Regions from separate parts of the Homo sapiens genome. Here region 1 is linked to region 2. The links are contacts of gene promoters, found by promoter capture Hi-C in blood cells and fetal thymus (Javierre and others, 2016). All regions are on one chromosome and are shown on one strand. Each heading gives the region's core, a stretch centred on a gene start or on the middle of the fragment in contact. The rest is flanking DNA. Distances are from core to core; before and after follow the strand shown.

What was found. Contacts are between HindIII fragments. The CHiCAGO score rates a contact against its expected background, and 5 or more counts as called.
Region 1: a contact is called between a fragment that was not itself captured here and the fragment with the promoter of TREM1 in region 2, in 1 of 17 cell types (neutrophils). The highest score is 5.3, in neutrophils.

Annotation. Positions count from the first base shown.
Region 1 is chr6:41,061,891-41,068,517 of GRCh38, forward strand. APOBEC2 (apolipoprotein B mRNA editing enzyme catalytic subunit 2) reads left to right here. Exons shown (of 3, transcript NM_006789.4): 2 at 1-2; 3 at 2,211-3,001. OARD1 (O-acyl-ADP-ribose deacylase 1) reads right to left here. Exons shown (of 6, transcript NM_001329686.2): 6 at 2,882-5,547. The coding sequence ends at 5,445. Among named protein-coding and RNA genes, the nearest start is that of OARD1, 7.2 kb to the right of the region's middle. The HindIII fragment of the contact is 5,527 bases long and covers 1,115-6,627 here.
Region 2 is chr6:41,283,090-41,290,098 of GRCh38, forward strand. TREM1 (triggering receptor expressed on myeloid cells 1) reads right to left here and starts at 3,593. Exons shown (of 4, transcript NM_018643.5): 1 at 3,518-3,593. The coding sequence starts at 3,566. RefSeq lists a silencer at 5,578-5,667. The HindIII fragment of the contact is 6,846 bases long and covers 3,444-7,009 here.

The DNA of each region.
Region 1 (6,627 bases), core at 2,628-5,127, 220 kb before region 2:
ACGTGAGTTTTCCTGGTGCCATGGCACCAACACTTTATTATGTTAACTCCAGTAGAAGGTGTGAGGTCAGGTAGAATCTGTGATATGTCTGATTTTCCTTTGGAAGGGTTTCATTTCTCTGCTTTTGACTGGTTGCAAAAATAGTTTAGAACATGTCTCTTTCCTCTGAATCCCTCTCTAAACTTTTCCCTCCCACACTTTTGTATCAAAGTAACTTTCCCCTAACTTAGAATACTCAAGGTTGACAGGAATCCTAAAACTTTCATGAGGCAAGATGACGTTCTTTGGTAAGATTTAGATGGTGCAAGCACCTGCTACTGAACCACAGCAGAGAAGATACTGAAATCCTCTGAGTATGCCCCTGTGTACATGTCAGGGATTACTAATTCCAGACATCTTCTAGATGCCTCACTCCCATATCCACTGGCAATCTTACCATTCCATTTTTCTCTAATGAATGTTTTTTAGTCCTTCAGGGACAATTTTTTCACTTATGGTAATTTTGAAATTCCCCAAATGGACTGGTATTTAACTTGTTTTAAGCCAGACCTGCTTTCATGTTTTCAAACAAATGGCTACACTTTGAAGGAGACCAACAATTGCTGTGTGAAAATACAATACGGGAACATTTTCCTTATGTTGAGAAGACCTCAGTAGAATTCATGGAGGATGTCGAATGCAGGAATGGGGATAATATAGCAACAAGCTAGTCCATGCAGGAACATTTAAAGAGTTAAAAAGACATTTGTAAAGTAGGCAGCAGCTCAGAAGTAACCTCTTACAGATATCAAGAGGTGATAGGAGAAAGATTAGCTATTTAAGCAAATAATTAGGACACAATTAAGGCCAATTTGGCCTCTTGCTGAGGGTAAATTAAACTCTAACAGAAACAGGCTAATTACCCTCAGGAAAGAGGGCTAAAGGATCCTTTACTATCTTTTTTACATTTAGTCTGATTGAGTTTGCGCCTACAGAAATGCTATGACGAAGCCCCCTTTGCAAGGCCCCAGTTACTGATCAAAATCTTCCAGTAATAGAGGAGGGGTACTCACGACACTCTTACCCAACTTTAATCCTGCAACAACTCACATATTACTAAAACATGAAAACAACAAGCTTCCATGAAGATAATTTACTTTTGGTCTCTCTCACTCCTAACACCCTTAAGAGAAGATGTCGCTTCATAGACACGTTTAGGAAATATCAATGTTCCAGAGCTTGATGTTGGCAGGTGTTTTCTATTAGACATGCACATGGGCACCTGATCATTCTCAAGCTGAGCATTTGCCAACCCATGAAGATACAACTTTCAGCCATTTCTTTTAAAAAGCAGGACCCAGTCACTGAAGTCAGTGAGCCTATGATAGGGTATACTGTGTGGTACTCTGCTCACATAAAATAAGACACTTTATAGTGGTGAACAGTAGTCAAAACAGATTTCTGAGGGTGCCCTCTGAGAATATAAAATTTAACTTTTAGAATTCCTTGAAGATTTTGTTAGTGTATGTACTATCACTGTAATTATAAACCCAACATAGATTCTACAGACTAACCGGCAGCTTAAAATTTAACCCCAGTATATTTTCCTTTCAGACATCTTTCAGAGTCAAGGGCCCAGGTGCCTAACTAGCAAGTCCTTAGAGCTTTTTTTTTTTTTTTTTTTTTTCAGTGATTTCAAATATAACTGTATTATCTGGACCCATTAACATGCTTCCCTGTCTTCTATTTGAATTGCTCATGTTTGTGAAGGGAAAGGTTAAGATATATCAAGTTAAAAAAAAAAAAACTGGCATGAGATAAGAGTGTAATCTAAAAGCCCAAAAGAACAACCCTGCTTAATTAAAATAATCTTGAGAAATGAGCATTTGTTAAATAAAGTGTCTTATTTTACATACTTATTTCATCTTTCTTTTTTTTTTTTTTAATGACAAAATAGTATTTAATCCTATATTTAGTCAAAAGACCAGAGTTAAACCAGATCTCTTCTGGGGCTTTTTCTGTGTAAACCACATCAAAACATGAACGAAAGACTGGCTTCTGGTTTAGTCAATCCTGGTAAATTTACCCAATCCTGCAAAGGAAACTATGGAGGAGAAATCCAGGGACTTGTTGGGAAGGGCACACAGAAACCTTAGTTCAAAAAGAAACTAGTCATTGTTCGGGGCCAGCAGAGCTCTCAGTAACACATTTTCTTTGTTTGTTTTACCAAGGTATTCCTGCTGCCACCAAGAGACAGCAATGACATGTACAGCCATCTGGGACATGCCTGTCTTCCTAATACCATTTGGAGCTGGACAACATTTGACACCAACCAATCATACTGGACAAGGCCCTTAGAGGACTTGAAATATACTTCTCATGCTGTAGTTTATTTAGGCTGTGACTCTCTCTCTAATGCTGCTCTCGGGAAGGACGAAAGTGACCTGCAAGGAGAGAAATGCAACCATACATGGGCTCCAGTCAACTATGGGACTGAAGGTCCTAATTGCTCACCCAAGGGGGCTGCTTAACACAAACAGCCTCAGACCCGAGGTTTAGATTTCTGAAATATGCATTTTATGTTAAGTTGGGTATTTTTTTAAAAAAAGAAAAACAGCAACATTAATAAAAGAAGTGGTGTGTTTTTCCCGTGGCCAGATTTTTAAGAAACTTGAACATCTGGAAGTTGCCACAGACAAGCGAGCTAGTCCAGACACAGGGACACTCCAGGCTATGAACCAAGCCATGGTTAAACCAAGACTTGCCTAGACAATGCAGAATAACTCTCCCATACAGACTTCTTACGACAATCAAGTGAGGGCCTTTCCCTTCTCTGAAGGCAAGTAATAGGGCAGAAGGTGGAACAAAAAGCATGAGAAATCTAAGGTAGCCACATCCCAAATGCCAGTTAATAAGCAACTAGCTTCTTTATTAGAGAGGAGCGGGTGAAAAGTAGTAGTTTAATGTTCAGATATACAATCATTTAAAAGTATTCAATACATGGTGTTTGATGGTAATGGCAGGATGATGTCAAGTCTCTCTTTTTTTTTTTTTAAAGGTTTGTTTGAGTCCTATGTGGAAGCAAAAATTCACAGGTGAATTTCCGGGTGTTTGCCAAACTCTAACTAGGTTTCCAGGAATAATGTGTTCACTCTGATTACCAGGGCATGCCTCCTTTCCTCAGGCTTCAAGTGTGATAAGTCGTCGGAATTTGACCCAAGACTACTATCGGCAAATGACAAAGTGCTTTATCACATTCCTGCTAAGTCCCAGAATTCCACTTACAGCCAATCCTGAATGAGACTAGGTTTTGTCTAAAGAATCAAGGCTCAAACGCCAAGAAAAAAATAATAATAATAACCATAATCTCTTTAAAAGTAAAGGAAGCCTAGAAAATCCATGTTTTGACTTGTGTTAAGGTTTACAGATGGTACTCAATTTACAATGGTTTGTCTTGCAATTTTTGGACTTTACAACGGTGCAAAAGCCATACACATTCAGTACACCCTTCAACTGAACTCAACTTAAGATGGGGTTACCCAGACATAGACCTAAGTTGAGGAGCATCTGTAATTGCAGAGTTAAGCAAAATATTTTAAGTTTCTTTAAGTTTCTTATCCCCCACTCTCACTTTCAATTTTGTGTATTTAGATAATCTCTCCTTCCTTTTTCCCTTCAACTTTATGTGGACAAAAGCAATGCTTCAAGAAAAGCCTCAATCTAAAAGTTTGATAATGAACTTGACCCTCCACTGCCCCTACCCCAACAACATGAAGAACTTGTCTGTTCCACCTAGAAATACAAAAGTGAAATACTTTTTTGAAACTGTTGCCTCTTATCAGGCTGATATGTGATAAGAACACAGTCTAAAGTACAAAGATTATATTTAACCAGTACTTTCCTGGTGTTTTAACCAGCCCCTTCTAAAATACAGTTGTTCTTTTATACTTGGGAAAGCAGCAAGTCCTGTGACAGACCCAAAGTCACTCTAGGGAGAAAATCAATAGCAAGTCTGGCTGTTTTAACTCTCAACACCACTGTAAGGGAAAACAAGAAAATGTCTAGTTTCCCGAATAGCTCTGATACTGAACCATTGGCTAAATCCATGAACTTTATTTTCCTACCATGACCACAATAGACGACTGGTCTTTGCAGCTTCGGAAGAAAAGAGGACTAATATTTAGACCCCAGCTGGCTGCACATCCAAATCTTCTATGGAGGTTAAAAACACAAAAGTGGCCATCCCACTCCACCACCAAATTTTTTTTTTTAATTGAGATAGGGTCTTGCTCTGTTGCCCACACTGGAGTGCAGTGGCACAATCACAGCTCAATGCAACTTCAACCTCCCAGGCTCAAGCCATCCTCCCGCCTCAACCTCTAGAGTAGCTGGAACTACAGGCCTGCACCACCAGGCCCAGCTAATTTTTAATTTCTTTTTTTTTTGTAGAGACAGGGTCTCGCTATGTTAACCAGGTTTGTCTCAAACTCCTGGGCTCAAGTCATCCTCCAGTCTCAGCCTCTCAAAGTGCTGAGATGACAGGTATGAGAATTTTTTGAGAGGAAGTGGCCTTTATTTTTTTAAAGAAGACTCATAAGGATTTTTGACAATCACTGATTTATTGGGTCACTAGTCTGTGCTAAGTACTCTGCCAGGCATTTAACATACATTATTTCACTTGTTTTCATGATTAAATTCAGGCAGGTTCAATCACAGAAACCATGCAGTGGACAAAAGAGAGAAAAAGTTCACCATGAGGAGATTCTAAAAACCTGCCTTTTGACTTGTCTATTTTTATCTCTTATTTCTCACTTTGCTTCTCCTCCCGCTTGGACCCTTTGTCTGACTGTTTGAAATTAAGTTGCAGGTGAACCCTCCATTACCCATGTCCAGAACAAATAGACATAAGCACAGAACCTCACTAACTCCCCAAATTTTTATTTTTCCATTTTTATCACCACAAATTTCTTGGTAACAATGTAGAATTTAATTTTGTAATTAAAACAAAAACTCTCCCCTAGGAGGAATCTGATGACATAAGGATAACACCAAGTTATGTGCACAAACGACAAAAAATGCCAAACTAACTGGAATGATCATCCTTCCTGAAATTTCTCTTAAAAAGCAGAGAAGTAGAACCAATGCTGCCACCTAGTGGCCAGCCAAACAAATCAGGTAGCATACTGGAGAAAAAGGTCATAGTCCCGACAATCTGGTTTCCCTGCCTATTATCAAGCCACCTAACTCCTTACTTTTCCACAAAAAAACACAACCACATATCTTAAGCAAGCCCTCCTCCACAGTCATAATCCAAATACTTGAATACAGCAACCAAAGTCTGTCTTGTTAAACACACTACTTCTCATGAAACTTTCCTCTGCCTATTTTAAGGTAGGTTTGCCCGGTCCTATGGCCCAGTAGAGATGACACAGGAGAACACGGAAACATCCAAAATGTTCACTGGTTCAGAGTGTGTACACAGTAATTTTGATGTCTGTTGCCTCAAATACCTCCTCGATCATCGCAGATACATTTTCCCATTGCAGACGATCAAGACCACATCCAATCCTGAAAAAGACAAAATATCTCCATTGATGGTAACGAAAGTATCTAGGAAACTGCTCCTCTCTTTTAAGCTATATCCACTCAAAGCATAAAAACAAATAATCTAGTCTGACACCCTTATGGGCAACCATGGTAGGAGTTTGGAAGTCAATTCTTGTTGTGAGTCACCGAAGACCATTCCTAGACAGCTCTAACATCCAAAAACTATCACTTCTGTTTGCCTAATAAGATACTACTTTCCAACTATTTCATGCTACATTTAGAAATGTGTAACTGTCATGACATTAGAGACTCATTATCCCTCTATGACTACTGACTAAAATTGGCTGTGGATGGATGGTGAAAGGTTGGTATTTTAAAAATGCACTTATGGTAACAGAATGTTAACGAAAGTAAGGAGAAGAGGAATGAGGTACAGGATCTGCAAAAAAGAAAGTCAAGAGGGAATGCTGGGAAATGGTAAGATAGTTGCAATCCAGGAGTAAGGTCTTTGCAACACCCTGGTAAGAATAAACTCAGTCCATAAAACTCTACTACTTGGCACCTTCCAAGATGTTACTCTAGTGATCCTCAACACGCCTAGGGAAAAAAGAGACCTAAAATTGGTAATTTCATGTCATAATGTGATAATTAAGTCCATAAGGAATTGTGATTAAAAAAAAAGTTTCTGATATGTATGTACACCATAAATATATCAAAGACCAGTGTAAAATAAGGGACATTTGAGGCCATATGCAAAGTAATGTGGGGCGCAAGATAAAACTGCATGTATGCTCAGCATTGACTCAAAACTACCAGGGTGACAGGAAGAAAAGAGGTGAGGCCCATTTCCTGAAAAGAAAGCAAAGGGACTACTGAACCCTCAATGTCATTCCCTAAATTCCCAATAGCTAAAGTCTAAGAAGTTACATCAGGGACAGATCCTCTGGCTATTACCCATACTGACCAAAACAAGTGTGCAGTATAAAAGGGAATGATAATTTACAACTTTCTTGACGCAAAGTAATAGGTTTGGGAGATGGGAAGTGGTCCAAGAGGAAAACCACCATTGCTCAGTCTTGATTCTTTAGCTTACATTGCTTT
Region 2 (7,009 bases), core at 2,343-4,842:
ATGGTGGGAGGGATCGATTACAAGGGCGTATGACATAAAAAGTGAACGCAAAGACACGGTGCTAGCAGAGAGTGGCTCCAAGGACACCTTGAGGAACTTCATCTAAGTCAGGGCAAGGAGATCAGCTCAAAAGACCTTTGGACAAACAGTGAGGAAGCCGTCTGGAGGGCATGATGGGCATGGATATCTGACTGCCTGGCACTCCTTTTTCCCTTCCTTGGGTAGCAGAGCACCCCTTTCCAAGGGAACGATCCTGTGTGGCTCTACTGTTGGGGCAGCCCACATTCTCAAGGATGGGCACAGGACACAGGATTTGCCAATCCAAGTACCCCATCTCGGGGCCAGGCACAGTGGCTCACGCATGTAATCCCACACTTTGGGAGGATGAGGAGGTCAGATCACCTGAGGTCGGGAGTTCGAGACCAGCCTGGCCAACATGGTGAAACCTTGCCTCTACTAAAAATACAAAAAAATTAGCCAGGCATGGTGGTGCACACCTGTAGTCCCAGATACATGGGAGGCTGAGGTGGGAGAATCACTTGAACCCGGGAGGTGGAGGTTACAGTGAGCCAAGATCACAACACTGCACTCCAGCCTGGGCCACAGGGCAAGACTCTGTTAAAAAAAAAAACACACACACACACACACACATACACAAAGTACCCCATCTCCCTGCCAGGCTGATTGGTTTAGGAAGGAGCACATGGCTGAGCTGGACCAATCAGAGTCCTCCCTGAGACTGCTGTAGCCATTAATGGAAATGCTTCTTGCTGGGATTCACAGGTCAATGAGATGTGAAACTTTATTATGTGAAACTTTCTACCACGTAGGAATAGGCTGCCCGAGAATGGCTAAACAGGCAGAAAGTGAGTGGGAGGAAGGAAGAGGGGGATAGTGGAGGGGAGAGAAAGAAAGAGAGAAAAAAACCCACGTTATCTGAGTCATGGACTCAGCTGTGCTCCAAAGGAGCACCCCTTGTACTTCCCAGTTACCTGAGCCAAGAAATGCCCCCTCCTATTTTTGATGTCACGGAGTCACAGCAGTGGTTCTCCACTGGGGAGCAATTTTTGCTCCCCGCCACAACTCTCCCTGAAACACTGGACAATATCTAGACATTTTTGGTTGTTATAACCAGGGAGAGGGGTGGATGCTACTAACATCTAATGGATACCAGGCTAAGCAATCTACAGTGCACAGGACAGCCCCCACAACAAAGAATCATCCCACCCCAAATGTCAATAGTGCCATGTTTGAGAACCCCTGGGTTACAGTGACAATAGTTTCCATCACATTCTTGGAGTCCGAACTGGGTTAACCATCTAGAATTGGGGATGCTCATCTGGCCTTGTCCAAGGGAGCCTTGCTGATGGGAGGCCAAGCAGAGCGGAAGTGAGAAGACCAAGGTCCGTGTTTTCAGCTGGACACACAGGGCTCTCTAAGTTTGCTGAGAGACTGTAGCTTACCCACTCAGGCCTGGGGTACCTTCCCCCATGGAGCACCAAATAACAGGCTAGACAGTGCTGCTGGGTCTACTGTGTGGGTCACGGTAACACTAGTACTGCTGTTATTAATACCACACACTTAGGTCCTTGCAGGCCTGGTGAAAAATGACAAGTGCTTACCCTTTCATGGAGCCCCCTGGCATGCCCACCCCAGGATAGGCCAACAGATCTGCCTGACCTTAGGAAGACTCAACTCAGGGACTCACAAGGAGTTTAAAGGTGAAATCAGTCTTGAAAGCCAGTTCTTCTGGGAGCAGACTCCAGTTTCTAGGGAAACCTCGGAAACAGACCTCTTGGGCAACTCCCACACACTCCAGTCAGGAATGTGCCTCCAAGAGACTGTTGACCAGAGGCTGAGTGTTGTCTGAAACCAAGCCTGGTTCCCTCATTTGTTCACTCACTCATCAGACTGGCTGGGAGACTTCTCTATCATAGGCACTGTGCTGGGCTCTTTGGAAGACACACAGACTCCATCCTCAAGTTGCCACCACTGAAGCCCTAACCTCTGAAGTTAATGTTACAGATAAATCTCTTTTATTTGCCAGCTCCCCAGGGAAGGTGGGAGTTACAGGTGACTGAGTTTGCAAACTTGCCTGTCTCTCACAGAAGGAAGGAGACAATAAGAAATGAAGGCTGCTGAGCTGTCTGTGCACAATTGCAAGAAGGGAATTCCTTTGAATATGTTAATTAAAAGGGTAGCAAATACTACCTATTAAGTATTATGTGCTAAGGGTTTTTAAAGACTATCTTATTTAATCTTTATAAAGTAAAAAGTTGACACCATTATTCTCCCCATTTTATAGATAAGGAAACTGAGGCACAGACAGATTAAGTGATTTGCCCAAAGTCTCACCATAGTTAAGTACTAGAGCCAGGATTCAAACCCAAGGACTCTGGTTCCACCTAAAGCACTGAGCTACATGGTCCAACACAGTCTGATAGGGATTAGAGAAGTCCTGGCCCAAGTGTGAATAAGTATCCAGTTGCAAGGAGCATTGAGGTTAACCCCTAACCTATCCCCACAGGGCACAATGAAATATATACCACTGGTTTTCTCTCACACAGGTACATAACCTTCAGCCCTCTGCCATCTCCCAGTTCTCCTTCAGAAAAACATGAATCAAACACAAGGAAATGCACTTGTCCATGAGGAGCTAACTCCCTTCTGCCCATCTAGATTATCACCCCAGCTCCAAGAAGACCCAGAGCAATGTCTGAGCACAGGCTCTTCAAGGCAGTTGTCCATGACTTTGCTCAAAGTAGAGAGCCCAGGAGGATACCTCTCCCTGATTTTTCATGCCTTCCCAAGGCAAGCCTCGCTTTTAACTCATATTGACACTTTCCTCCTGTTATTCATAAGGATTAGGAGGAGGAGTGAATAAAGCCCGCATGCTTCTGGTTTGGGTGCAGATGTGAGCTGTGCGGATCGTAAGAGGAGACACAAGAAAGAGCTGGGGCATGCGCCGGCTCTGCTGAGCCTCAGCAACTGTGCCCTCCAACCCCAGCGTGCCATGGAGAGCTGGGATGATCACCTCCACCAAAATGAGCACCAGCCTCTTCTGGTCACGTCTGTGTCCTCAGCAGTAGTATATTTGCTGTCCCATAGTAGACCCCTGGGAAATATTTGTTAAATCAATTCTGTCTTTTGGGTTTAACAGATTGTCAACATCAAACACATCATGATGGAATATAAGAAAAAAATTTCAACATCAAATAAACTTATTGTAGATCATGCCATGATGAGATCTACTCTATCATTATTCCCATACTAGGCTTTGCATGTCTCTAACAACATCGACATGCACAGACATCTTTTTTCCCTGACTCTCTCCTTCTTTTACTTTTGTGTGCAGACACTGCATGTTCTCCCAATTCTGGGTAGAGCAGCACGGTCTGCCATAACTACTGGTTGGCTCTATCTTGGATGGCCCTGTGCTCTGAAGCTTCAACAGAAAAGGGCTCCCCGAGATCCTGGACCAAACGCCTCCCCTGCTCAGTCCTCTTCCTTGTCTTACCTGAGACAAAGAGCATCCACAGCAGCCCCCAGAGCCTGGTCTTCCTCATCCTTCCTGTGCACCAGCTCCAACTGCTGCTGAGGGCTCCCGGGACAGCTACAAGGCACCACAATGACCTAGAGGCTTCGGAAAGTTGCACAACAGGATATGAGGCCATTCCTGGGAGTCACTGAGTTTGGGTTCTGTTTCATCACCAGTTGCTCTGACTCCTGACATCAACACAATAATACAGAGACCAAGACTCACTTCTCAGTTAAGTTTCTTTGAACTCCAGTTTTCCTTTCTGTGGTAATAATGACAATTACCTTTCAACCTTACAAAATCTAAGGGAGAATGATACTTGAATGTAAATCAAAGTAAGGCATTCATATTAGGAAGGGGAACAGAGGGCCCTTTGCTCTCCAGAGGCCCCCTCTCCATTCACATCCAGTTTAGTGTAGTGAAGAGAGTCAGGCCCACATAGGGAGAGGCTGCGACAATCGTATCTCATCTTCAGGGTTTTTGTGAGAACATGTTGCTTCATCCTGCCCTGCTCAGCCCCGTGGGTTCTCTTGGCTTCTGGTGACCTGGGGTGCACCTCCTCTTCATCACCAGGAGGGCCACACCCTGCATTTGTCCTTCAGCATTGCCACAGACATGGCCTGGGAGCTCACGGGGGTGTAGGGACCCCAGAAACAATTTGAGAGGACACTGCCACCACCCAACAAGAACAGACTTAGATTTAAAAAGGAAACTTGGTTCAAGACGCTGAAGCAAGAAGAAAAAATCCAGCAGGTTTTGTACTAGAAGCAAGAAAAGACAGATTTGACAGTGTGAAAATCAAATCAATAATGGAGAGGATTCACTTCAGAAATATTCCCAAATGTGAAATGAATAAAGACATTTAGAAGAGCTCAGAAATTTAAGGGAGGACAAATCACAGAATTCCAATCTACAAATCAGAGATGTCCTTAAAGCATAAAATGGAATGGTGGATCACAAGCAAGATTAAAAATTTTATCTTAAAAAATATGCTTTCCAGGTCTGAGAAGAAATCTAAAATTGGAGGTTGAGAGTTCAACATGGGCAAGGAAAAAATTCACAAAGTGAGACCTAGAATAGGAAGTTTCCAGGTGAAAATTTTTAAATTTAAATAAAAAGATTCCTACTGCTAAATAAACAAAAAAATAACTTGGTTTCTTCAAAGGAATTGAAATAATCAGGACTCAGATTTCTTCTCTGAGTAACAAATACCATGAGAGAGTGGGATGAGGTATAAAGAACATTATGACCCTAATATTTTACACCCAAATTGATTGCTACTCAAGTATAGGAACAGCTAAAAGGTACTATCATGTCTGTAAATTAAAACAAACAACAACCAAAAAAATTTTCAAGGCTAACTTTAATTTTTTTTATTAAAGCTGTTCAATGCAGCAATTTATAAAATATAGAAAATAATACATAAACTTAAATCATGTTATTACACTTTATAGAGATCATTTGTAGTGGAGATTTTACTATGTTTATTTTTTGTTCTACAAATAATGTCGGAAAACAGGCTTCAAACATGCTTGAACTGAAATCTGCTGGCCCCTCCTTTTGCTGTACTCAAGCAGTCCCTAAAGAGGAAAAATAGACAGAAAGCTCTTGACATTTTCTGACTCAGAGAGGAGCCTACGTGACTTCTGTGGCGATGAGTCAAATTAATAAAGTTTATTTCAGTGAATAAATCCCCTCCTTACAACAAAATTAATATTCCACACTTAAATAATAGCTATTTCACATACTTTCTACATTTTTGTGTCTTCATATACTTTGTGTGGAGGATTAAGCTCCTGGAAGATTAAGAGGGAGCTTTGAACTAAACAGTCCAAGAAGAATTTTTAATTAGACTTGAATATCACTGGAGGCTGATTGCTCCTTCACATTTTCCTAACTACGGACAGCACCTGCATTTAAATTAGAATGAAGTAGAATGAGGTCTTTCTCCACTTGTCTGATCTATTTGTGTACTTGAGGTCAACAGTGCAAATAGTCACGTGTCACTTAATGACAGATACATTCTGAGAAATGTGTTGCTAGGTGATTTTGTGTTGCAGGAACATCATGGAGTGCACTTACACGAACTTAACATGGCACAGCCTACTGTACACCTAGGCTGTATGGTATAGCCTATTAATATTAGGAAGGGGAACAGAGGGCCCTTTGCTCTCCGGAGGCCCCCTCTCCATTCACATCCAGTTTAGACAAATACCTTTCAACCTCACAAAATCTAAGGGAGAATGATACTTGAACATAAATCAAAGTAAAGCATATTCCTAGGCTGCAAGCCTGCACAGTATGTTACAGTCCTCAATACTGTAGGCATTTGTAACACAATAGTAAGTATTTGTGTATCTAAACATAGAAGAGGCATAGTAACAATACGGTATTATGACATTATAATCTTATGGGACCTCCACCATATATGCAGTCTGTCATGGACCAAAACTTCCTTGTGCAGCACATGGCAGCATTCTCTAATCCTTACCACTTTATTTTTCTGAGGAGTTTAATGACCCGATCAGTAACTTCTTCAGGCTGAATAGGCAGGACGATATTCCTGCCTAACTATTAGGGTCTCTTTAAATTCTCAAGCTACTGCTCCCAACAAGATATTATTTCTTAAGGCTTCTCATAGAAGAGCACTGTCATTTGTGACCTATGGTTCCTGTTAATTTTACTAAGGCTGGGTCACATGTCCCATTTCCATGCTTGCTCATAGGGTGGCCTCTAGCACTAGGAAGATTTAGTCTTTGGGTACCATGAACCTTTCCATATTTGCCAAACTTCATCTTCAGAGCTATTATGAAATCAATACAGTTTCAACATTGATACAATTAATGAAATAATACCAATATTATTCTGTTTTGTTTTGTCTTCAATAAGTCACTGCCCCAAGTCAGTAGGTCTCGATCTTCACTATGGGGTAAATTAGCAGTTTCTTCCTTAATAAAGATTGGTTAATCTAACCTAGCTAGAATATATGTGTAACATTTTTTAACAATGAGATTGCATATAAAATATCTTCTTTTCTGGCTCAGAGGAGGGGCCCACATGGAACTGGAACACAGATCTCTGAGGATAGTGTGACCCTGGTGCTGATATCTCTGAGGAGGCCCAATGAGACTACTTCTGAGAGTGGGGAAAACTGCAAACTGGAACCAGTCACTGTTGCCCGTGAAAAGCATCACTGAGGCTACTCACAATGAAAGAGAATGAAATAGGAATCAGTGAGCATGTCCTGTCTTCCTCCTCCAGCCTCCCAATCTCCCTCTAATGCCCCTATCGAGAGTCCAGCAGGGAACCAGCCAGCAAAGACAAAGCGAGTTTCAGAATCTCCACTCAAACCAAGGTAAAGAAGTGTTAATCAGAGAGACGATGACTGAATAACCAGCTCACTCACACAGTCAAACAAGAGCACTCCACGTGTCTGAGGCCTCACCTAGCAGTAAAGCAGACAAGTTGAAT